Regions from separate parts of the Homo sapiens genome. Here regions 2, 3, 4 and 5 are each linked to region 1. Evidence: promoter capture Hi-C in 16 types of primary human blood cells and fetal thymus (Javierre and others, 2016). All regions are on one chromosome and are shown on one strand. Each heading gives the region's core, a stretch centred on a gene start or on the middle of the fragment in contact. The rest is flanking DNA. Distances are from core to core; before and after follow the strand shown.

The links. The method cuts DNA at HindIII sites, captures the fragments that hold promoters and counts their contacts. A CHiCAGO score of 5 or more calls a contact.
Region 2: a contact is called between the fragment with the promoter of SCARA5 here and the fragment with the promoter of CLU in region 1, in 1 of 17 cell types (endothelial precursors). The highest score is 6.7, in endothelial precursors.
Region 3: a fragment that was not itself captured here is called in contact with the fragment with the promoter of CLU in region 1 in 1 of 17 cell types (neutrophils); the score reaches 6.2 in neutrophils.
Region 4: a fragment that was not itself captured here is called in contact with the fragment with the promoter of CLU in region 1 in 9 of 17 cell types (monocytes, fetal thymus, total CD8 T cells and 6 more); the score reaches 7.1 in monocytes.
Region 5: a fragment that was not itself captured here is called in contact with the fragment with the promoter of CLU in region 1 in 4 of 17 cell types (erythroblasts, megakaryocytes, naive B cells and 1 more); the score reaches 7.1 in erythroblasts.

What each region holds. Positions count from the first base shown.
Region 1 is chr8:27,612,358-27,617,430 of GRCh38, reverse strand. CLU (clusterin) reads left to right here and starts at 2,731. Exons shown (of 9, transcript NM_001831.4): 1 at 2,731-2,776. RefSeq lists enhancers at 96-852, 1,143-1,643, 2,600-3,099 and silencers at 2,488-2,577, 4,133-4,318. The HindIII fragment of the contact is 8,616 bases long and covers 228-5,073 here.
Region 2 is chr8:27,990,614-27,995,686 of GRCh38, reverse strand. It overlaps SCARA5 (scavenger receptor class A member 5), which reads left to right and starts at 3,014. Exons shown (of 9, transcript NM_173833.6): 1 at 3,014-3,430. The HindIII fragment of the contact is 6,163 bases long and covers 2,716-5,073 here.
Region 3 is chr8:27,264,944-27,270,016 of GRCh38, reverse strand. No RefSeq gene overlaps it. Among named protein-coding and RNA genes, the nearest start is that of STMN4, 9.1 kb to the right of the region's middle. The HindIII fragment of the contact is 576 bases long and covers 2,566-3,141 here.
Region 4 is chr8:27,298,416-27,303,488 of GRCh38, reverse strand. It overlaps TRIM35 (tripartite motif containing 35), which reads left to right. Exons shown (of 6, transcript NM_171982.5): 2 at 4,930-5,025. Among named protein-coding and RNA genes, the nearest start is that of TRIM35, 10 kb to the left of the region's middle. The HindIII fragment of the contact is 2,439 bases long and covers 1,718-4,156 here.
Region 5 is chr8:27,316,977-27,322,049 of GRCh38, reverse strand. It overlaps a transcript of PTK2B not described here. Among named protein-coding and RNA genes, the nearest start is that of PTK2B, 6.0 kb to the left of the region's middle. The HindIII fragment of the contact is 4,732 bases long and covers 1-4,407 here.

The sequences.
Region 1 (5,073 bases), core at 1,482-3,981:
AGAGATGGTGCACAAAGCATAGATAAACAGATAAATGCAAGGGTCTTTACTCATCCCTCCCTGGCCCTCCCCATGGCTCTGACTCTCCAAGAAAATAAATCAAGCTAATGCCCCAAACCCAGCTGTGTAAGTCCATAATGGGAGACAGAGGATCAAACAGCAGCACCTGCCAAGAAGATGATGCATTCTCTATGAATCAGCCCAGTGACTCAGCATCTGATAAAGCTTATTTGGAGTGTTTAGGGCAAGGGAAGGGGTGGTCCTGTTCTGCTTTGTGTGCTCAGGCCCTCCGGCATTGGCTGGTCCAAGGCTCCCCACTGGCATTGGCTAGTCCAGGGCTGGGCCAAGGGTTTCAAGAGAGATGAGGTCCAGAATGTCAAAGGGCTGGGGAAAAGTCTGCAAACCACGGCAAGGCAAGGAGCTGCAAGCCTGGAGGTCACTGGGAAAAGCAGACTACGTTGCCTTCAAATATCAGAAGGGGCACTATGGGAGAGATAGGCTGGATTTTCTCTGTGTGGCTCCAGAGGGCAGAACTGGGCTCCGGATTGGCCCATACACGAGCCAGACTGTGACTCAACCAAAGAAGGCCCTAACTTTATCAACAGCTTTACTAGACAAATGGTTGCATGGCAGGTAGTGAGCTCCCTGTTATTGGTGGCATTCAAACATGGGCAGGATGACCACCGGGTGCAGATGCTGGGGATGGGGTAGGAATCAAGCAGTGTGTGAGTCCTGAACCAATCAATGTCTATGATCTGCTTAGAATATGAAACATCTGGTGATGCATTTATGGCGCTTTCAAAATTTACACTTTTCTTTCCTCAAAGTTTGACCTTCTGAACCTTGTTTGCTTAGTAGTGGGAATAATCAAGTAATTATTCCCAAGGGATCACAGTCATGACTGTGAATCTGTGAATCATGCTATTTTCTCCCAAGTCCTTTCTTCCTCTCTTCCCTTCCCCTAATTCAGCTGGCTAAGGCGGATCTCACTGACTGACCTCCAAAGTCTAATTTTTAAAAATATAACTAGATTTATGCCTTCTGTTCCGGATGCTGAGGGAGCTACAGAACAGAAAAGTTACAAGGAGCGAGCTCAAAAACAATTCTTCTAACCTCAGGTATTGATAAGGAGCAGGCACTGATAAGGAGCAGGCACTGTCCACAGAAAATGTAGCTGTTACTGATAATTAGACATTTTTTTTTTAAGAAAAATAAAGTGTAGCCTCTTCTGGGACATTTTTTTCTTCTTCTGGGTTAATGGCCTTCTAATACTTGGCTTGGCTCTAGGTTAGGTTGCAGGGAGCCGTGGAGATGATCCATTCCCGATTCCTCATCGTCCAGATGGAAGAAACTGAGGCCCAAGGGCAAAGTGATTAGTCCGAGGTCACCCAGTGTCTAGGGGCACACCTAGGACTGTAATCAGACTTTCATGGACCTGGTCTGGGTTCTCCCACTTAGTCATGGGCCTTGAAGATTCCCCGAGGCTGCCTCCTGAAAAGGACTGGGGTCCTAGTGGCCCCTGGACGTTGGGCAAGCAAGGGACTGGGCCTCCATGTTGTGCCTCCATAGTCCTGATCCTGAACTGGAAAACTCAGCCCCTGACCACGCAGCTCTCCTTTAAGCCCCTTTGTTTCACATGGTTTTCAAAGTCTGCCACCCACAGTGGGGCTGCCTGTACCCGCCCTGTCCACCCATTGCCCCAGCTGTCAGCCCCTTGACTTCTCTCCTGGGGCTTAAACATCCCTGGCTCCAAAATGGGCAGCTCACTTTCTTCCCCAAGAAGTAGCTGCACCTCCAGGGTTCCTAGATTTGCCCCTCCTTGCCAGGGGGAGGGGTGGCTGCGACAGGAGATTCTCCCTGCTCTCAGCAGAAGGAACTCCAGCAGTTGGAGACCAGCAAACCCCTCTGGACACAGATCTGATTTCCTAACTGGGAAGGCTCAGGGCAAAATAAAAATTCAGGTCCACTGGTTCAAAAACTATGAAGAATTTCAAGACCGTCACAGTAGCCCATTAAACCAAACGTGGATCTGCAAGGGTCCCACAGCCATGAAGCCCACCCTGCTTGGTTGGGTTCCAAAAAGATGGGGACAGTGATTGCTTAAGCTCTGTGGATCAAGGACCCCGGAGAGGCCTTCTGGCTCTCCACATATCTGCTCTGATCACTCCTAAACACAATTCTGTTTCCTCCAGGCCTGGCGGGTCAGTCCAGGGACCCCCATCAGTGTGATGTTTCCAGGAGTAGGCGTTTCAATACTTCCTGTGCTCTCTTCTCCAGCACAAGGCCCCTCTCCATCCCACCCTCATTATGTCTGACTCTTTACTATTTAAATGGGTCAAGAGAAGTGGCGCTTGTGTAATGTGAAGGTTAAGGTCAGTAGGGCCAGGGAACTGTGAGATTGTGTCTTGGACTGGGACAGACAGCCGGGCTAACCGCGTGAGAGGGGCTCCCAGATGGGCACGCGAGTTCAGGCTCTTCCCTACTGGAAGCGCCGAGCGGCCGCACCTCAGGGTCTCTCCTGGAGCCAGCACAGCTATTCGTGGTGATGATGCGCCCCCCGGCGCCCCCAGCCCGGTGCTGCACCGGCCCCCACCTCCCGGCTTCCAGAAAGCTCCCCTTGCTTTCCGCGGCATTCTTTGGGCGTGAGTCATGCAGGTTTGCAGCCAGCCCCAAAGGGGGTGTGTGCGCGAGCAGAGCGCTATAAATACGGCGCCTCCCAGTGCCCACAACGCGGCGTCGCCAGGAGGAGCGCGCGGGCACAGGGTGCCGCTGACCGGTGAGATGTCCCCGTCTTCCCTACCCTTGAGCAGAGCCACACCAGGACGGATGGGCGGGCAGGGGATGGCAGCCAGGCAGAGAGGGATGACACAGCTCGCAGTCACAACCCCTGCGCTTTCGACGGAGCCCAGGAAGCCAGGGAGGGGAGGTGGCCGGAGCCCCATCACCAGGCAGCTGAGCCAGGGGCCCCGGCGCAACCGCCGCCTGAGAGCACGAGCTCCAACCACAATTCTGTGGTGGGGGGGTAAATAGAACAGATATAATGATCATCCTTTCGCAAAGATGGGGAAACTGAGACCTGGAGACCTGCCGCGTTGCGGGAGACCCAGGCTAGCAGGTGACAGAGCTGGCCTGCACCGAGCTCCTTCCTGCAGCATATCCTCTGCGAAGATGCGGATCTCTCAGTTGTGGCTTTCGGCTTGCATGCATGAGTCATCTAGTTTTCTTCTAAATTCTCTAGCTCTCTGGACACTGTTGCCTGTAAGTATGAGGCTGCGGATTTCAGTATATGCTGCAACCACCGAAATCCGACTTTTTCTGCCTCCTAATGCATCTGAGGTGCATCAGAGAAAAGTCACACAAGATCCACCAGGCCTCAGACCTCTGATTCCACAGTCTCATTTTACAGATGATAATCTGAGGCCTGGAGAGGTTTAGGACTGGTGCCAACACTAAACAGCAAATAAGTATCAGAATTGGGATTCGAGCCAAAGCCTCTTGACCTTCCAGAATTTCTGGACCTAGTTAAAAAAAATATGATTTTTATTATTATTTTTTAAACGGAGAGGTTAGGAATTTAAAGGAAAGTACAGATACTATATAAAAAAAGATGCCCATGAAAATGTTAAGTTATAATAATAGTGGAGCATTGGGCACAACTGAAATGGCCAATCTTGTGAGAATGGTAAAATAAACTTAGGTCCGTGAGTAAGTGGAGTATTACATAGCCATAAAAGTATGCCCTTAAAGAATATTTGAAGATGGTGAATGTGAAGAATCTTGTATAAACTGCATGGAAGACAGAAGGAAATATACCACAGTGCTAACCTTTGCCTCTGGGTGATATGAATTACCGGTGATTATTTTTCTTATTTTCCTTTTGGTTTAGTTTTCTCCATTTGAAGAAGCAGATAGGAGCCGGGGCTTTGGGATTGAAACCCTCACCATCTGTGTGCCCTCTTCACTGTCTTCCCATCCTCCCCACGGCTCCCTGTTCACAGTCATTGATTTTCTTTCTTTCTTTTCTCTCTTTTTTTTTTTTTTTCCTGAGACCAAGTCTCACTCTGTTGCCCAGGCTGGAGTAGAGTAGCGCCATCTCGGCTCACTGCAACCTCCGCCATCCGGGTTCAAGCAGTTCTCATGCCTCAGCCTCTGAGTAGCTGGGACTACAGGCGCATGCTGCTACATCCGGCTAATTTTTGTATTTTTAGTAGAGACATGGTTTCACCACCTTGGCCAGGCTGGTCTCGAACTCCTGATCTCAAGTAATCCGCCTGTCTTGGCCTCCCAAAGTGCTGGGGTGACAGGTGTGAATCAATGCGCCCTGCCAGGTCATTGATTTTCTTAAGCCTCCAGCCCTGCCCTGCTTGGAAACGTTTTGGGAAGCTGCTCAGTTCAAAGTTCCCAGGAGGGTGTGCCTGGAGGGGAGTTGCTCCCAAAGTCTGCCTGCTCCCCCCGCCCCCCCTGCCCCCCACCCCCCGCCATCTTCTCCTCCTCCTCTTCCCCTGAGCAGCCCCTTTGTCCACAGAACCGGCCTTTTCTGGTAGAAGGAGCAAGGCCAAGTGGTTTAAGCCTTCTTAGGGAGAATGAGGCTGTGTGGTAGTGCTGGGGACTCGAGGGCCTTGGCCTTGGCATGGCTCTTCCACCCAGGGCAGCTGGCAGCCAGGCTCCCAGGAGGCAGAGGAGATGAGGGGGGAGGTGAGTCCGAGCAAAGGAAAGGAGGTCGGCTGTGCAGTCACGGTTCTAGAACATTCCTTGGATCAGCAGCATCCATATCACCTGCAGACTGGCTGGAAAAGCAGTCTCAGAACCAACATTATAACCAGCCCTGCAGTGATTCATAAGTACTTTAAAAAGTGGTCAATCATTTCAGCAAAGCAGAGCCACACAGTCCGGGGGACCACAGGTGGCCTCTGTGTGCTTGTCTCGGTTTTCCTGCCCCTCTCCAGACATGTTGATTAGACACTGCCAATGCCCAGCCTCAGACCTCAGTCTAATTTGGAAGTAGTCAGAATTTACTATGATTACATAAGACCCTCGTGTTTACAGAACACATTCCCCTCTCTGAGGTCTGGA
Region 2 (5,073 bases), core at 1,765-4,264, 380 kb before region 1:
TGACATAATTAAAGGTGCTCAACTTCATGAGTCATCAGGAAAATGCAAATTAAAACCACAATATGGCACCTCTACAATGCACCAGAGCAGGGAAAATGGAATAAACATCACTGACACTGACAAGGACAAGGAATAAGTGTAGTTTCATCCCCTGCTGGATATAAACTAGTACAACCACCATAGGAAACTCTTTGGCAGTGTCTACCAAAGCTGAACACAGGGCCATCCTATGCCCTGGCGATTCCATGCCCAGGTATATGCCCAAGAGAATGGCATTCATATGTTCCCCAGAAGACACACACAAGAATGTTCACAGCAGCACCATTTATCAGAGTCAAAAATGGAGTCTGGACATGGTGGCTCACACCTGTAATCCCAGCACTTTGGCTGGTGGAGGCGGGAGGATTGCTCGAGGTCAGAAGTTTGAGACCAGCCTGGGCAAGATAGCGAGACCTCATCTCTACAAAGGATTTTAAAAAATTAGCTGGGTGTGGTGGCATGTGCTTGTAGCCCCAGCTACTCAGGAGGTTGAGGTGGGAGGATCACTTGAGCCTGGGAGGTCGAGGCTGCAGTGAGCTATGATTGTGCCACTGTACTCCGACCTGGGTGATAAAGTGACATCCTACCTCTAGAAAAAACAAACTGAAAAAGCTTGGTCCCTCCATTTCAAATACTGAGATTTCATAGATGAAACTACTTCAGAAGTCTATTGAACCCTCCTCTATCAAGGCAATCACATTTTCATTCAGCTTCTGGGGGGGAAATGCCTACTACAAATGCCATCCGTGATTGAATGGAAGCAAATCATTTTGGGGACAATTCTGATTTTAGTGGCAAGGAGGTATCTGAGCTAAGAGCTGCCGGGAGGACTCTCACCCATGAGAAAACCAGCCCTCCAGGTCATTCCTATACTTCACTGTCAAATCTCCCTTTGCCTGTTCCGGCAGCTTTATTCATAATAGACAAAGATTGGAAACATCCCAAACCCCCTTCAGCAGGAGACCGATATACACATTGTGTGTGGTATGTGCCTATCACGCAATAGGACTCAGTGCTTCGAACAGGGCGGGAGGTGGGAGGACAAGCGAGGATGAGCGTGGAGTCCTCACATGGCAGAAAGGCAGAGGATCAAGCCAGCCCACTCCTGCAAGCCCTTTCTACGGCATCCCAAATACATTCATGACTCAAATACCCCCACAAAGGCCCCACCTCCCAACACTGTTGCAATAAAGATTACATTTCCAATGCTTGAATTTAGGGGGACACTAACTACCACATTTCTTGCTAACATACACATCTCTTTAGGGAAGGTCTTTGGACATCACTTTTTTTTTTAAGACAGGATCTTGTTCTGTTACCCAGTCTGGGGTGCAGTGGTGCGATCACAGCTCACTGCAGCCTCAAACTCCTGGGCTCAGTTGATCCTCCCATCTCAGCCTCCCAAGCACCTGGGACTACAGGTGTGCATCACCACGCCCAGCTATTGTTTGTATTTTTTTTTTTTTGTAGAGACAGGGTTTTGTCATGTTGCCCAGGCTGGTTGGACATCATATTTTGAGCACATTTCTGGCTGTTTTTAAGATTACATTCCTAGGAATGTTGGTGAATTGATGGGGGACAAAAACATTTGTTTCCCCTTGAGAGGCAATGGTACAGGGGAGGGGTTAAGAGCATAGACCCTAGGATCACATTGCCTAGGGTTGAATACTAGCTCTGCCACTTACTGGCTACAAGACCCTGGACAAGTCACTTCCTCTCTGTCTCTGTAAATGAGCATAATAGCAGCACCTGCCTCAGGGGGTTGTTGAATAGGTTCAATGAGCTAATATATAAGAAACACATGGTATATGCTATAAAGTGTTGTCTTCTTTTCCTTCTCCTCCTCCGCTCCCTGGGATTATTACCATAATGATACAATTATCATTTGTTCTTTCTGTAAAATGGAGTTTGATGTTGGAGCTGCTTCCTAGGCAGTCAGGCAGGGCAGTCACTGAGAATGAGGACGGCGTTTCTGACTCAGCTGTGGGCGGGCAGCTGCAGTGACACAGCTGAGTCTTGGCAAACACTTTTCATGTACGAAGCCTGACCCTGGAGTCTTGAGGCTGAACTTTTCACCAACAAACAGGAATGCATTCATGAATGTTACCTCTGGGTGCTGTCCTCTGGAAGCCATCTGCATAGCCTAACTCTGCCACCCTGGCTTGGACAATTATGGTGATTTCTCTGATGCCCCTGATACTACCACCTCAATCTGAATTTAGCAGCTCCCTTCACATATGGTTAGATTGCCTTTAAAGAGATTTTTTTTTTTTTTAGAGATGGGGTCTCACTATGTTGCCCAGGCTGGTCTTGAACTTGTGGGTGGGCTCAAGCAATCCTCCCACCTCAGCCTCCCAAAGTGCTGGGACCACAGGTGTGAGTCACTGCACCCGGCCTAGATGTCCTTTTTCAAACGTAAGCAATCATGCTCAGGTTTAGGATTATTCGTGCCTGGGTCCCCCTCCCATACTGAATTGCTATGGACAGCCAGCTAGTCTTCATCCTGCACCCCCCAGCCCCTGTGCAGCGTTAATGAGCCAGAAACGCTGATTCTGCTGCTGAGTTCCGTGGAACCCCCTGGGGCATTTTCCTGACTACCCCCAGTGTGGCCAATCCGTGTCCACTGAGGATGAATGTGACTCCAGGAAAATACATGAAGTAACTCTGTGCCAAGCTTGGTGAATGAATTGAGCCATGCCAATTCTGTGCTATAAATAAATTTACAAGACTGGTTTTCTTGCGTGGCTCATAAGCCAGGTCTAGCTGCCACTCCCCCAGAAGTCTTCCAAAAAGTATTTTGAGCAGGACCTTTAGACTGGGGTGTTGGAGTCCCAAGGCCAAGGCCGACCGCGCTGCTCTGGGCCCAGCGGGCGTTCCCACACGGGGCTGTAATGCCACGATTGGCCGCAGGAGGGGGGCCGTATTCCAGACCCCATTGCAGAAGCCTCCGCAACTGCTCCAAGAACTTTATTTTATACGGACTGGCGGCGAGAGCAGCTGCAGTTCGCATCTCAGGCAGTACCTAGAGGAGCTGCCGGTGCCTCCTCAGAACATCTCCTGATCGCTACCCAGGACCAGGCACCAAGGACAGGGAGTCCCAGGCGCACACCCCCCATTCTGGGTCCCCCAGGCCCAGACCCCCACTCTGCCACAGGTTGCATCTTGACCTGGTCCTCCTGCAGAAGTGGCCCCTGTGGTCCTGCTCTGAGACTCGTCCCTGGGCGCCCCTGCAGCCCCTTTCTATGACTCCATCTGGATTTGGCTGGCTGTGGGGACGCGGTCCGAGGGGCGGCCTGGCTCTCAGCGTGGTGGCAGCCAGCTCTCTGGCCACCATGGCAAATGCTGAGATCTGAGGGGACAAGGCTCTACAGCCTCAGCCAGGGGCACTCAGGTGAGTCTTGGTACTAATTTTGTCCTATCTCCTGGGCATGCTGTCTCAAAGACAGCTGGAGGAGACTGGAGTGAACTGGATGGAGAGGAGTACAGAGTTTGGGAAACTTCAGACCTAGAGCCTGGAGGTGCCTTCTCCAGGTGGGAAGGTCCCCGCCTGCTGGGCCCGCAGATATCTGCCGGGCCCTCATCCAACTGCCTGGGCTGGAGAGAATGTGAGCCTGCATTTGGGGTGCCAGAGGGAAGCTATTGCCTTGGTGGCTACTCCACCTGACTCATGTCACAGCTCAAGAGCCTACTCAGGGTGCAGATGGCTCAGGTGACAGCTCCTCTCCATGGCTTCGTGTGTGTGCATGTGTGTGTGTGCATGTGTGTGTGTGCATGTGTGTGTGTGTGCATGTGTGTGTGTGTGCATGTCTGTGCGTGTGCATGTGCCAGTGGTGGGATATATGTGGGGAGAGGTTATTTCTAAAATATCTGTCTCTGTCCAGCTTTGGGTTATGATTTAGCTTAACTAAGTACAGTTAGAGGAGGAAAACATTTAAAACCTCCTTAGTGATTCTCTCTTTGGAGAAGGGCCACACTCATGTGATTTTTTTCCTTGGTTTTGATGAGTTTAAAGTGAGGTAATCCAAAGAAAAGCCATAAACCCTGCAGAGTTAGATGCGGGTACCCAGAGAAACTGACTTGGTAGCAGCAAATGAGGCTCGTGCTACCCACTCAGAGGAGGAATTAATGGAGTCCTTCTGATCTCCAGAGAAGGATTGAAGAGCCAGGGTCCTGATATCAGCCCTAGAGTGCATTCGCGATTGCCTTTTACAAAGGGAACTTCAAACAGCTTTGTTTCTGAGACTGGCTAGGTAGGAGGGAGGCCTTGGGAACCTGGACACCCCCTTACCTGGCTGCCAGGCAGAGTCAGAAGATGCTGGGGGATGCTTTTTCTCATCAGACTGCCACCAGCTCCCCTGAGTGACCTTGTTCATAAAGTCATGCCACATGCATTATCTCACGGGAGGCTCACAGTGATCCTGGGTGACCAGCAGCTACCCACCTTCCCATCTTAGAGGTCATGTACCTGAGGCTGAATGAGGTCAGGTAATTGAGCCAAGTTCCCCCAAGAAACCAATACGCAGAGGAGCTAGGATGGGAGCCCTTGGCTTCTGTGTTCCCTGCATTCCTGCAGAGAGCCAGGCCTGCAGGGCGCAGATGGCCCCAGGGCACAGGGCTGCAGGGCACAGATGGCTGAGGGCTTTTCCAGCTCTAAAATGCAGAATCTAGAAGCAGATCCCTGGCTCTGAACCTGCCCTTCTAAGTGCCTTGGGTGAAATTGTCTGGAAGTAAATCATGATTGCCAAGAGGTTAGTGGAGAGGGTGACACCTCCCTGTTAGAGCAAGACCTCCCTCTTTGAGTTGCAAGTTGAGGTCCAGTCTCCTTGGGCTTCATCCACAGGTCACTGTGGCTTCCACATCTCGCCCATGTGCTTCAAGCTCTCAGAGCCCTGCCTCAGTCCCAGGATCCCCACCTGCTGGAGTACACTGGCTGGCAGTCTGAGGTGGGATTCTCTTCTCTGCCTGATCTGGGGCCCAGAAAGTGGTCACCAAAGGGGCTGACATGCAATTCCCAAACAAAGCAACCCTGCAGCT
Region 3 (5,073 bases), core at 1,604-4,103, 350 kb after region 1:
GTCTAAAAAAAAAAAATACAAAAATTAGCTGGGCATGGTGGTGTGCACTTGTAGTCCCAGCTACTTGAGAGACTGAGGCAGGAGGCTTGCCTGAGCCCAGGAGGTCGAGACTGCAATGAGCGTGATCCTGCCACTGCACTTCAGCCTGGGCAACAGAGCAAGAGACTCTGTCTCAAAAAAAAAAAAAAAAAAATTGCTGTGCTTGAATTTGGTGTATGTATGTCTGAAATTGGTTTTGAGCCCATCGAGTAGAATGAGGCCGACCCTAAACTACAAAGGAAGAGGCATGGGAGTCACAGCAGCGTTTTCTTAGCAGCCGCAGAGGACTGTATGCATTTCTTCCCATTCCACCCCTTTTTAAAACCTACTTTATGATTTTTCAAGTCCCTACTGTCCTTAAATCTAAATTCTAGGGGGCTGGGGAAGGTGGGCCAGTCCAGCCCCTTCCTCATCAATCTCTGTGTGCTCCTGAGTGCAGCAGGGAGGGAATGTGCAGGGTGACTCCAGAGCTGATTCCAGCTCCCTGTTTCCAGCACCTTTGGCACACAAAAGCATGCAGCAGATAGAACTGGACAGCTGGGGAAGAGGTGGCCCCCTTTCCTTCCCTCCCAGTCTCTGGCCCTTTTGACAACCCATGTTAAAAGACTCATTTGTTCACACCCTGCTCTGACATCTCTAGGGATGTTCAGCCCCTGGGGATTCTGCAGTAGGGAGAGGCAGCTGTGGTGCTAGAGGTCAGGATACTCACAAGGCAAATCGTTTTCCCATCCCCAGCTTGCCTAACCCAATTAAAATGTTCCACCACTGGCAATGAACTTAGGTTCAGGCATTTTTGTAATGAACACAATATTATTTTTTGCTTGTTACTTGCTGACCCTGATGGAGCACACATGTGGGGTGTCTGCTGGGCTCTCCATTAACCTCCCCGCAGAAGAGGACCCCTACCCCATACAGATTTGCACAATGCAGTCCACCCTCTGGTCAAAATCCTTGGCACCAGACACACACACCTGACCTGAAGTGAGCCAGACGGATTCTCTTGCCTGGACATTCTGAAATCAGGATGGAGAGAAGGCTAGTCTGTCTCTCTGTTACCCCAAGAATCGTGGGCTGGCCACTGCTTGGAAGCAGAGAGGGGGTCTGTCTTGGAGATGGGAGATGCAGATGCAGAATAAGGTGGGGGTGAGAGAAAGAGAGAGAGAGAGACAGACTTCCCAGGTGCTGCTGCTGCTGATTCCTGGTTCCAGCCAGCTGTCTTTTTGTGATGGTTTCTTTGTGATATCTTTCTAAACTTGAATGAATTTCCTGTTTTTGCTTATGGTAATCTGGAGTAGATTCCTGTTAATTTGCAGCCAAATGAACTCTAAATAAGATGCAACCTGGTACTAGGAAATGAAGCCACACATAACCACATAACTGACCCGTTTCAGGGCATGGAGACAATGGGATCCCATCATTCTGGGATTGGGGAAGCTGGCTGCCTGTCAGTGATATACAAACAGAAACAGCTGGTGAAATCAGTGTTGCTGGTTTTTGGAACTTGGACAGTTTTTCTACTGAGACTGAGGCTTTAGGGGATTGTAAGGCCATCTTGAAGGACGTCAGGCCATGCTGTTGACTCTCTGGGATTTCAGTAAAGTGCATGGGGTCAAGTCTGAGGCTGTTGGGCTTAAAGTGGATGGGAAAAACAGGAAAACTAGGTCAGTTGTGCAAACCCTGCTCCTGAAGTCCTTTCTGCTCATAGTATAGGATCTGAGACCACTTAGAGTCAATTCTCGAAGTTAATCACAGGACTTACAGAGCTGCAGCAGTTACACTCTGCAGCAACCTACATCGAGAACTAAATTTGGTGCACCAATTATGAAACAGCGAGGTTCTGGCACTTGGAATAAGGACATTCAGGAAAGGCCAGGGGAGCTGGGAAACCCTGAATCTTCCAAACTTCTTCCGGTCCATTTTTCTGCACCCTCTTGCTGGACAAGATGGGGGGTGCCTCCCACTGTGAAGCACCCTTTGGAACCAGGTTTGGGATGATCTACAAATTAACAAGGTGAAGGTGGACTTTCTCAACTGCCCTGCGCACCCTAAGGCGAAATCCGTTAAGCAGAGAACCAGAGCCCTCGGGCTTCCTTCTAAGAAACTGCAGCCCCACAGGCAGGGCCCAGCTCAGCTGCTCAGCTTCACAAGCTGTCTAGAAACAGCTTTCAACAAATGCAGTCTCCCTAAATTAAATCGACAGGCTGCCAGTTAAGGTTTTATAGGTGCTGTGCTGCCAAAAAAAACCTCAAGCCTGGAGAACAGGGTCTTTAGATCAACACAAACCAACCACACACAGGGCATCTTCATCCCTCAGGCAAGCTGTGGGCCAAGCCAGAAGACTGCCAGCTGCCTTCAGAAGACGTCACATGACCACAGTCAGTTTCTTCTCAGGCTCCTTCCGAGGTGGGCCGGGAGGACCCTGGACAAGGGCAATATCCCTGTGGGCAGAGCCTAAAGTGGTTTACTGGCTCACCAAGGAACTCTCTTGGGTGTCAGCTGGAGTCACCATGCAGGGGGCCACAAGCTTCATCGTGTGTCCCATGGGAGGCAGCCCACACTTTACACTGTAACCGCCTGATGAGTTCTTCCTTCCCAATGCACAGACAAAAGCAATTGATGGAGACCATGGAGTTTAATTGACATGAGGCCTGTCATGCCATGGGGGAGACAGAGTTATTACTCAAATCAATCTTCCTGAGCATTTAGAGGCTAGGGTTTATCAAAGACAGTTTGAAGGAAGGGGTGGAGGTAGCGAGGCAATGGGTGGTTGCTGCTGATTGGTTGGGGGCACAATCATGGGGCATGGGAAGTGTTCCTCCTGCACACTGAGTTGCTTCTGGGTGGGGCCACAGGAGCAGTTGGAGGGCCCAGATGGAGCCACTGGTCATCAAACATGCAAAAAACCTGAAGAGATATCTCAAATGGCCAATCTTAGGTTCTTCAATAGTGATGTTACTTGCAGGAGTGACTGGGGACATTGCATATCGTGTGACCTCCAAAATAATGGCTGGCAGTTGTTTATGTCTGCACCTTAGCCGAATTCAGCCTCCTCTCCTCCTCCTAGCCTGGCAATCTCTCATTAACTTTACAAAGGCTAAAGCTTTGGGGAAGGGCTATTATTAAACTTTATTTATTATTTATTGATTATTATTTAAACTATAAATTAAATCTCTCCTAAAGTTAGCTTGTCCTAAACCCAGAAATAATTAAGGGCAGCTTGAAGGCCAAAGGCAAGATGGGGTTTGGCTAGATCAGATCTCTCCCACTGCCATCATTTTCTCAGTGTGTAATTTTTGGAAAGGTGGTTTCAACACCAGTAGCCTGCCCAGGGGCTTCTGTCTTGAGGGTCCTTCCTTCTTTGTGTTTAAGTGGGAAAGCTTTATGGCTACTGGCCAGCCTTTCTCCCAGTGTTCTCTATCAGGTGGACTATAGATGGTGGGTTTTTGTCATTTGCTTTATAGACCCATCCATCTGGGACTGATCTGGAGGAGAAAGGGGCATTTCCTGGGATCAGGACCTCACCTCTGTGTAGAAAGGAGGAAGCGTCCATATTCCCGGAGGCAGTTACATCTGTACTGTGCGACCCCACTGCCATGGGAAGAGGCATGGACTCCAGGCTCAGGCAGGGTTAGTGGATTTTGTTTTCCTGAGAGCTTTAAACTGAATCTAAGAGAGGGCTAATGGGTTTCTCTGTGTGGCCCAACTACAACGAACACTAGCACCACCAAAAAGCACTGGCATCCTTCATGGCTGTGAGGCAGCCACATGCATGAGCAGCACAGAAGGTGGTCTGCAAAGATGAATGACGCAGCTTTGCAGAGAGAGGAGAGAGACACAGAGAAATAAAGAGGGAGAGAGAGAGAAGGAGAAAGAGAAAGAAATGGAGAGAGAGAGAAAGAGGGAGAGAGAGAAAGAGGGAGAGAGAGAAAGAGGGAGAGAGAGAGAGGGAAAGAGAGAAAGAGGGAGAGAGAAAGAGGGAGAGAGAGAAACGGAGAGAGAGAAAGAAAGAGGGAGAGAGAGAAAGAGAGGGAGAGAGAAAGAGGGAGAGAGAGAAAGAGGGAGAGAGAGAAAGGGAGAGAGAAAGAGGGAGAGAGAGAAAGAGGGGAGAGATAGGCAGAGAGAGAAAGAGAGGGAGAGAGAAAGAGGGAGAGAGAAAGAGAGGAAGAGAGAAAGAGGGAGAGAGAGAAAGAGAGGGAGAGAGAAAAAGGGAGAGAGAAAGGGAGAGAGAAAGAGAGAGAGAGAAAGGGAGAGAGAAAGAGGGAGAGAGAGAAAGAGGGAGAGAAAGAGAAAGAGGGAGAGAGAGAAAGAGAAAGAGGGAGAGAGAAAGAGGGAGAGAGAGAGAGGGAGAGAAAGAGAAAGAGGGAGAGAGAGAAAGAAAGAAAGAGGGAGAGAGAAAGAGGGAGAGAAAGAGAAAGAGCAAGAGAGAAAGAGGGAGAGAGAGAAAGAAAGAGGGAAAGAGAAAGGGAGAGGGAGAAAGAGGGTGAGAAAGAAGGAAAGGGAGGGAGAGAGAAAGAGGGAGAGAGAACAAAAGAGGGAGAGAGAAAGAACTGACTTGTGATTGCTTTCCTGACTCTTCTTTTTTGGGAGGAATCCTCCGTTTTGGGTTAAATAAAGAATTCCCAACTCCTCTTTTCTCCCCTTTTCTAGTAACTGTTTATTTTGAAATAATTACAGATTTGGAAGTTGCAAAGATAGTATAATAGAGAGGTCCCACCTACCCTCTACTCAGTTCCTCCCGTGGTTACACTTTACATAACTGTGGTACTATATCAAACCAGGAAATGGGTGCAATGTGTGTCTATAGTTCTATGTCATTTTATCCCATGTGTAGACTGGTGTAACTACCACCACAATCAAGACACACAACTGTTCCATCCCACAAAGGTTTTCTTCTTGCCACCCCTTTTAGAGTGATCCTTCCTTCTTTCCACCACTCCTAGCTCCTGGCAACTACCAGTCTGTTCTCCATCTCTATAGTCTTGTCCTTTTGTGAATATTCTATCAATGGAATCATACACTTTGTGACCTTTTGAG
Region 4 (5,073 bases), core at 1,688-4,187, 310 kb after region 1:
AAATTAATACCAAAAGCAAACAAAATAATATTGTTTAGATGCATTCAAATTCACACTTCTTACATGTCATATTTCCTAGGTGAACCACTAGATGCACAGAAGGGGAAAATGGAATAAAAAATGTGTAGTAAATTTTAAAAAAGGAAAGGAAGAAAAAGAAAAATAGAATAAGCAAGACAAATAGCTCAGAACAAGGTGGCAGATTTAAATGCAAACATATCGGTAATTATGTGTTAAATACTCCAGTTAAATGAAAATGTTGATCTGACTGGATAAGAAAACGAAACCTAATTCTGTGTTGCTTAATATAATTATCTCAGTGAGAAAACATTTGATAAAATTTACCATCTTTTTGTGTTTAAAAAAACAGGAAACTAGAAATGGAAGGAATTTCATTAGTTTGATTAAGTATATCTAGCAAAAAAACTTACAGCAAATATCACATTTAATGGCAAAACATTGAAAGCTTTCTTATTGAGATCAAGAAAAAGACAGGAATGCGCATTATGACCAACTCTATTCAGTTTTGTGTGGGATAGCCTTGTCAATGAAGTAAGCCAATAATTATAAATAAAAGATGTAAGGTTTGGAAAGAAGGGAAGCAAAACTGGCATGTGTAGATAATATGGTTGCATATTTTTGCACTGAGATTTCTATGTGTAGAAAATAAAGATTCTACAGTTAAATCATAAGTATTAATAAGTTTAGGTGAATGCTGAATCCAAAATCAAGATGCAAAACCAGTTGTATTTCTATGTATCACTAGCAAATAGAAAATAAAATATAGGCAGGGAGTTTTACACCTGTAATCCCAGCACTTTGGGAGGCTGAGGCAGGAGGATCGTTTGAGCCAAGGAGTTTCAGACCAGCTTGCACAACATAGTCCAGCCTGTCTCTACAAAAAGTTAAAACAAATTAGCCAGGTGTGGTGGTGCATGCTTGTAGTCCCAGCTACTTGGGAGGCTGAGGTGGTGGGAGGATCACTTGAGCACAGGAGGCTGCAGTGAGCTATGATTGTGCTACTACTGCACTGCAGCCTGGGTGACAGAGGGGGACCCTGTTTTGGGTTTTTTTAATTTAAAAATATGTTTACAATAATATAAAAAATAAGATAACTAGGAAGAAATTAATAAAAGATACGCAAAACTCTGATAGGGAAAAATATACTTCGTTGAGAGCTATCAAAGAACATTAAGTAACTGGTGTGATATATTATGTTCGTGGATTAGTAAAGTCAGTATTTAAGCCTTTCAGTTTTCCCCAAATTGATCTATAGAGACAATATTGTACTAATCTAAATCTCAACATGATTATTTTTATGCAACTTCACAGATTCTAAAATTTATATGACCCTCAAAGGGCCAAAAATTGCCAAGACATTCTTGAAGAGAAACCTATCAGAAATCCTCTCTTTTTTACAGCTATAGAAATTATGGCTGTGTGATGTTGGCACAAGGATAAACAGATGGGCCAGAGAAACAGATGGAGAGAACCAAAAAACAGATCTGTGTCTGATTTAAGACAGAGGTGGCTCTGCAGACCAGTGGGCAGTAATGGTCTTTTTAAATAATGGTGCTGAGACAATGAGCTACCTGGTCACACCATGTGCAAAAATAAACTCCAGGTATCCACATCAGACCTAAATGTGAAAGGAAAGCTATAAAGCTTTGAGAAAATACTACAGAGCTATACAATAATAATGCAAAGCTATAAAGCTTTGAGGAAATAATACGATTGTTTTTGTGATCTCAGTGTAGGGAGGTGTTTCTTAAAACTAGTATACTAATCCTAAAGGAAAAGACTAATAAATTTGGCCATATTTCAATTAAGAAAGATAAATGATGAAGTAGAAAATATTCATTACACCTCTAACTAATCAAGGACATACATTGTGTATATATAATAAATTCCCACAAACCAGTTAGGAAAATGGCAGGCAACGCAATGGAAAAATGGACAATACTTTACTGAGTACTTAAAAATAAACATTGAAGTGGTCAATAAACATTTTCTATTAACATTGCTCTTGCTGTAAAAATTGGTACCACTGCTTTGGAAAACAATTTGGCATTACGCAGTAAAGTGAAGACACATATGGTGGCCCAGCAGTTTTATCCCCAGGAATATATTATGAAGAAACGAGTTCCCATGTGTCCCCAGGAGACATGTACAAGAAGGTTACCTCCTCTGGGTCTAACTTGATCCTCTGTATAATGGGACTCACAGTGCTTAACCTTATAGGGAGAATTCGAATTAAATAATTGAATTAAATAGAATGTTTGTAAAGTGCATAATTTAGTGCCTTGTGTCTAGTACATGCTTAATAGTAACTGCTTGCTAGCAATAGTAATATAATTGTTGGTTAGTCTCATCAGCTGACATCTCAGAGAAGGGCCATTTTAGGATTGGTCTTTTCTGAAGGAAACCAGAACTCTCCAAGTGATTGAAAAGTTTGAGAAGATCAAGGGACTATCCCCTTCCCATCCTTATTGTCCCATAAATTCCTAAGGGCCAGGGTTGAAGGGCAGGGGCTGAACTGTGTTGTTTTGGGGCCTGCACACCTTTGGGTAATGCGTATGGACAGCTGCTTCACTCCTGTCACTTAACTAATTTGGCAAATCACTAAATTTTCCTTTTGAACTGTATTACATGATTTTGTATCAAAAATCTCATTCTATAAAATAAAACATTGGAATGACATTTCAGTGGTTTTGTGGGGGCACTCATGCAAATTAGAGATGATATACTACAGAAAACAAAGTTTAAAAATCTTAAATATTGTCACTTAAGATTAAAAGATCAAAATGAGTTGAAAATAAAACAGAACTGCAGAAAATGAAATCAGTAACCATTTTGTTTTCTGTAGTGAAAGACTTAAAGGAATGGGCTACTGAGTGGGACAAATGGGCTAGTTCTCTATTTCCTAGCAAATTGCCCCAAAACTTAGTGCCTTAAAACAAACATTAATTATCTTTGAGTTTCTTTGGGTCAGGAATTGGGCCTGCCTTAGCTCTGGGTGCCTCTGCCTCAAGGTGTCTCATGAGGGGCTGCAGTCAGGGTTCTGTGGGCTAGTTCTAACCAATGGGCTAGTTCTCTATTTCCTAGCAAATTGCCCAAAACTTAGTGCCTTAAAACAAACATTTATTATCTTTGAGTTTCTGTGGGTCAGGAATTGGGCCTGCCTTAGCTCTGGGTGCCTCTGCCTCAAGGTCTGTCATGAGGGGCTGTAGGTATGGAGCTGTGGTCTCATCTGAAGGCTCAGCTAGGGCAGGATCCTTATTTACACTCACATTTGTAGTTGTTGGCAGGATTCAGGTCTTCACGGGCTGTTAGCCTGAGAGCCTGAGTCCCTCACTGGCTGTAGGTCAGAAGCCACTCTCAGTTTCTTGCCCCAGCAGTCACTCCCAGGGCAAATTACCACATGGGCAGCTGGCTACCATCCCAGTGAGCAAGCTAGAGAGAGGAAGGCAGGGTGTACACAGCCTTTGTCGCCTAACCTCAGAGGTGACTTAGTATCACTTGCCACATTCTTTTGGTTAGAAACAAGTCACCCACAGAGGAGGGGATTTCACAAGAGCATGAGTATCAGGAGGTGAGGGTCACTGGGGCCACTTTAGAGGCTGCCTGCCTGAATCTGTCCTTTGCCCCATAAGGAGTCATGTCCCTCCCACATGCAAAATGCACTGGCCCTCTCCCAAGCTCTCCAAACATCTCATCCCTTTACAGCATCAGCCCAAAGTCCAGATTTGTCATCTAAATCAGGTCCAGATGGGAATGAGGCTTTGGGCGACACATCTGTATAATTTATTGCTGCATATCCAGTCACCCCGACATTTAGCAGCTTAAAACACTCTCATCTCACAGGAGGGAGGGATCACTGGGTGCTGTCTCAGCAGCTGCCTCCATAGCTGTCCAGGTTCACGTCCTTCCACATACTAGCTGTGTGCCCTTGGGCTGGTCATTTCCCTTCTGTGCCTCACTTTCTCATCTATAAATGGGGCCAATAATATTACTTATCTACTAGGGAGAAGTAATGATTAAATGACATAATTTCTCAAGTAATTGGTGTTGTCCCTGGCACAGAGTAAGTACTGAATAAATGATAACCATTTATAATTATTTGAATTATTTTTCTTAAGAAAAAACTTGAGAAGCTTTCTGAGAATGTAGATCGAAAAGGATAATGAGGGAGAAAAAATGATAGGCCTAAGATACAAGAGGCAGGAATCCAACCTAAAACACTCTAGTGGTTCTTCAAGTTGTCCAAGGACATCAGAAACAATCATTAAAGTTTAAGAAACAAAAACTACTAAACCAAAAGTATTTGTGCCTGCTGATTAAAGTATTCCGTGCGATACAAGCAGTGTTAGAATGTCAGGATGCAGGAGGGGTATGGAGGGGCATGTTGGGCATGTTGAGGTGAGGCCTCATGGGAGGTAACTGAACCCCGTGGGAAATGACTGGCTCCACCCCCATTGTCAGTCACCTCACATTAGAGATTGCAGACCCATTCAGTTTAGGAAACTGCAGAGGGAACCTATGACCACACTGTCTGCAGTTGTCCACACAGCTCAGGGATTCAGACCCAGCATGAACCAGCTTTTGGCCCACATGGGACACTCTTCTGGCCTGTGCTGTGACCAACATGAGAGAGAGCAGCTTGCTTCTTCTCAGCCCCATCTCCCAGTCTGTACCAGGCTGGGCTACAGGATGTCTGAGGGCTCTTTATCCCATGGATGTCTGATTCAGGATCAGGACCTTACTTACCATTTGTGCCCAGAGCACTTGGCATGGATGGGGTTAGGCAAATGCAGTTGAGTTACACTTGTGTTGAAGTGGAGTCCCAGTTGTAAATGTGATGTGTCTGCCCTCTCTGCCCAGCCTCCAGCCCTAACCTGTCTTCCTCCCTCTCTCTCATTCCCATGTCAGGCCAAGTGCAGGAACATGGAGCATGCACTGCGGGAGAAGGCCAAGGCCTTCTGGGCCATGCGGCGCTCCTATGAGGCCATCGCCAAGCACAATCAGGTGAGCGAACGATGGGGCCAAGTGGGAAGATTGGGTCCACTCAGGGCA
Region 5 (5,073 bases), core at 792-3,291, 290 kb after region 1:
CCACTGCACTCCAGCCTGGGTGACAGAGTGATAGTCCATTTAAAAAAAAAAAGGGACAAAGAAAAACTTATGGGTACAAGTACTGAAAAAAGTACTTCATCACCAAGGGATGTCTACCTCTAATTTAACCAGACATCACTATGTTTACGAAGTGGGCCACAGTTGAGGCCAAAATAAGTTGAGTATGGCTTGAATAGAACTCAAAATCATGCCCTCAACCTAAAAAAGAACTTTCTCTTTTCTTTCCTTAATATTGGAATCCCTGACTTTCAGATGGTCACAGCCTGCCCAAAATGAAGGCTACATTTCCCAGTCTCCCTTGCATGTGTGACCAGGTGCGACCATGTGATTAAGTTCTCCGCAATGGTTGAAGAGTAGAAGTTATGCACGCAACTCCAGAATCATGCCCCTCAAGGGAATGAGCACATCCTCCAATATTTTCCACTTTATCTTTTCCACCTCCACCTGACAATGAAACCTGGAGCAGCCATCCAGTCTATGATGTTAAGAATCCGGGTACCTAATGCCGTCCAGCCACCATGCTTACCCTGGACATAGTCTGAACCTAGTTTAACTTTTACATGAGAAAGAAATTTAAGTTGCTTGGGTTACTTTATTTTGGCCTTTCTGTTACCATAGCCTGAACTGCATCGGTGATACTATGACATAATAAGAAATATATATTTGGTCTCTGACCGTGCACACAACTTCTAAAACCCTTGGAATTTCTGGAGTGTTAAGAATGTTTTTTTGAGGCCAGGCATGGTGGCTCATGCCTATAATCCAAACACTTTGAGAGGCTGAGGTGGGAGGATTGCTTGAGGCCAAGAGTTCGAGGCCAGCCTGGCCAACGTGGCAAGACTTCATCTGTACAAAAAAATACAAAAATTAGCTGGGCATGGTGGTATGCACCTGTAGTTTTAGCTGCTTGGGAGGCTGATGCAAGAGGATTGCTTGAGCCCAGGAGACTGAGGATGCAATGAGCTATGATTGCACCAGTGGATGAATTTAGCTTGGGCAACAGAGCAACACCCTGTCTCAAAAAAAAAAAAAAAAAAAAAAAAAAAAAGCCTTTTGTATGCCAATGAGATGCCTGGTGGCTTAGGTATCTTAGATCCCTTAGATAGCTTCAGGATGAGGGCTGGTCATCAGAAAAACTGAGGTATGATGAGAAGGCTGAACTTTCAGCGCTATCCCTAAAACTTGGGGAAGGAAAGGGGCTGAAGGTTGAGTTGATCACCCATGGCCAATACTGTAATCAGTCATGCCTACATAAAGAAGCCTTCCTAAAAACCCAAAAGAACATGGTTCAGAGCTGAAGTTGCAGAGGTTCTCAAAGGGTGGCACTTTAAGGGAAGGCATGAAGCTCCATGCCCCTTCCCACAGACCTCACCCTGTGCATCTCTTCCCTTTGGTTGCTCACCTGTATCTTTCACAATATCTTTTTTAATAAAGGACAAAAGAAAGAAAAGTGTTTCTCTGAGCTTTGTGAGCCACTCTAGCAGATTAATCAAACCTAAGGAGGGGTCATGGGAACCCTGATGTATAGCCAGTCAGTCGGAAGCACAGGCCACAACCCGGGACTTGCTACTGGCATCTGAAGCTGGAGCGGGGTGGCAGGGTGGGGAGTTGGGGCAGTCCTGTGGGACTGAGCCCTTAGCCTGTGGGATCTGATGCTATCTCCAGGTAGATAGTGTCTGAATTGAGCTGAATTATGGGACGCTCAGTGTTGTGGGACTTTTCCTTAGTTTAGCTAAAGACGGGGTCCTTGTCTCATGGCCATGAAAGATTAGGCTCACAGACAATTTGAAGGGTGAGTAAGGCAGGGTTTTATTGGGTGAAGAGGGAAAAAAATGGCAACAGGGACCCTTCACAAAGCCAGAGTCCCTACGTGCTTCCTACCTCACAGTTTGAATCGCAGGTACCACCCAGGAAAAGGAGGGGCCAGACTCCTCCCCACTACAAACAGCAGGAACTCCTGTGGCTCCACCCCAATGCGCACTCCTCCCAGTATACAGGCTGGCTAGAGTTTCTCTGGGGACCCTTCCCACCCGGCTGTCTCACCAGCTGGTGTTCACTGGCAATCAGTTGTTGGTGGGGAGAAACTCCTGCACATCCAGCATCAGACGTGACTGTTGGGTGGTACAGAAGAGTACAGAGAAATATGCAGCGTTTTTCTTTTCTTCAGAGCATCCTAGCTAATACACCACCATTTATCCTATTTTCTTTTAGATATAAGTTAAGGCAGAACCTCAATTTTCTCATGTATAAAATGGGATTAATTTACCTTATGGGATGTTAGAAAAACTAGAAGTACATGTGCATTTCCTTGCTATTGCTATAGCTCATAACTGACCATTAATGGATATTATGTCCTGTTGTAATTTTTTTTTTTTTTTTTTTTTTGAGACAGAGTCTTGCTCTGTCACCCAAGCTAGAGGGCAGTGGTGCAATCTTGGCTTACTGCAAGCTCTACCTCCCAGGTTCATGCCATTCTCCTGTCTCAGCCTCCCGAGTAGCTGGGACTACAGGCGCCCGCCACCGGGCCTGGCTAATTTTTTTTGTATTTTTAGTAGAGACGGGGTTTCACCATGTTAGCCCGGACAGTCTCGATCTCCTGACCTCGTGATCCTCCCGCCTTGGCCTCCCAAAGTGCTGGGATTACAGGCATGAGCCACCATGCCCCACCCTGTTGTAACTTTTTAAAACGGGTTCCTGAAAAAAAAAAAAAGGTTGCTTTAAAATATTCCACCTCCCCCATCCAAAAAAAAATCTGTAGAGGGGAGAGATAAAACGAAAATAGCAAAGTTGATAATAATGCAAGCTGAATGATGGGTATGTGGGGGTTAATTATACTGTTCTCTCTAAAATATTGAGTGCATTTGAAACTGCACATAATGAAAAAGTTAAAAAAAATGAACAAAATAAGATCTTTCCACAGAGGATAAAAAAGGGCTCCTGGAAATAATCCAATGTGAATCTCTTTGGGAAAAATAAAGACATAGTTAAACCATTGAAAAATTGATTTGGGTCAATTTTTGGAAGGATGGAAAACACTGAAGAGCATTTTTAATTGTTCCATTAAAGAACAACACGAAAGGCCAGGCGCAGTGGCTCACGCCTGTAATCCCAGCACTTTGGGAGGCTGAGGTGGGCAGATCACTTCAGGTCAGGAGTTTGAGACCAGCCTGGCCGACATGGTGAAACCCCATGTCTACTAAAAATACAAAAATTAGCTGGGTGTGATGGTGCATACCTGTAATTCCAGCTACTCCGGAGGCTGAGGCAGAAGAATTGCTTGAACCCTGGAGGCGGAGGTTGCAGTGAGCCGAGGTCATGCCACTATACTCCAGCCTGGGCAATAGAGCAATACTCTGCCTCAAAAACAAACAAACAAAACCATGCAGAGAAAGCCTCAATGCCACAGAGGACACATGGTTGCCACAGAGGACACATGGTTTCCGCAGCTATTGGGCACGCTTCAGGATTTCCATAACTCCCCAGGTTGCTGCAGGGCTGGCCTGCAGGCTGCTCCTAGAAAGAGTGGCTGCCTGGAAAAGGAGACTTCCCTGATGCCCTGCCGACTCTGAATCAGCTCTATGACTTTGGTCTTCTTGGCTCTGAACCCCTAACCCCCACCTGTGAGTGGGCTCATCTGGTCCCCAACATCCCATGGATAAGCTCTGAAGCATTGAGTGACTGCCCAAACCTTGCTTGCCAGTGTCGAATTCCATAATTTTAACAAACGTGGTGATCTGGTCCCAGCCCACCGTGTGCAGGAAACATCAACTAGGAAGTGAAAGCAGATTGCTGCAGGCAAATGCATTGTTAGGAACAAGAAGAACTTCTAGACAGGAAAAAAATGCCTAGCATGTGCAAGAGCCCTCAAAACCAAGCATCTGTGGCCATTTACAGGACAGAGACAAATAACCCTGCATACTTCATTAACTCCTATTACTTTATTAGCCAGCACAGTAGAGTATTATTGTCTATTTTGGTGCATCATGAGGTATGATTTATATTACGTTCTGCATGCTTTAGAGAAAAAAAACCACAAAATATATTTCTGAAATATTCCCATTCAAAATGTTTCCAATAAAATAATTGAGTGCTTCAATATAAATTTCAGGAACATGGAAAATCAGCTTTGTGTTGTGTCCAGTTGCCAAGTTGGCTGTCTATTCCTGTACCACTCCAGTGTCTTTATAATGAATTGCAGCAATGTGTAACTTCATGTGGATGATCTAAACAAGAGGTCGAAAGCCGAAATGCCTACAGGGGCCGAGCAGGGAATGTGAGGGAAGCTGGCTGGATAGGAACTGTGGCAAATGGGAGAACAAATGTCCCTCCTACAGGGAGCAGCTGCTATTCAGCTCAAAAGTCTATTGCCATGCAGAAAAGTAAGCTTAATGAAGCCAGATCCTCCTTTTTTCAAAACGCAAAGGCAGACAGTGAACTATCTGCAAAGGAAGTTAAGAAAAAACAATTCCATTTACAATGACAGCAAAAATAAGATACTTGGAAATACGCTTAACCAAGGAGGCAAAAGTCCTGCATGATGAGAACTACAAAACATTGGTGAAATAATAGAAGGCATAAGGAAATGGAAAAGACATCCTGTGTTCATGGATTGGAAGACATAATATTGCCTAGGTCACTGCCTATCAAATGGAAAATTTTCTCCCTTTTATAATAAATAGCAGAGCCCCTAATGTATCTCAGGTAATCACCTTCATCACATGATTCAGGTAAATTCTGATTAGCTCAAATCAATCATGATGGTCTTATTCCCCTTGCCAGTGATGAATTTAGAAGTGAACATGTGACCCAGTTCTGGCCAATAAGATGCAAGGGAGTATTCTGGAAGGTTTTAAGAAAGGTTTCTTAGCTCTGAAAATGAGACATACAGGGAGAAATGGCCTTATTTCATTTCTGGACATTGGTTCATATCAGGATAAGATGCTGGAGTTGCTGCAGTCATTTTCCAACCAAAAGGAAGCCATAGGCTGACCAGAGAGAGGATGAATCTAAAGTCACTGACATAACCAACAGTGGATGCCTTTTGCCTCCAGA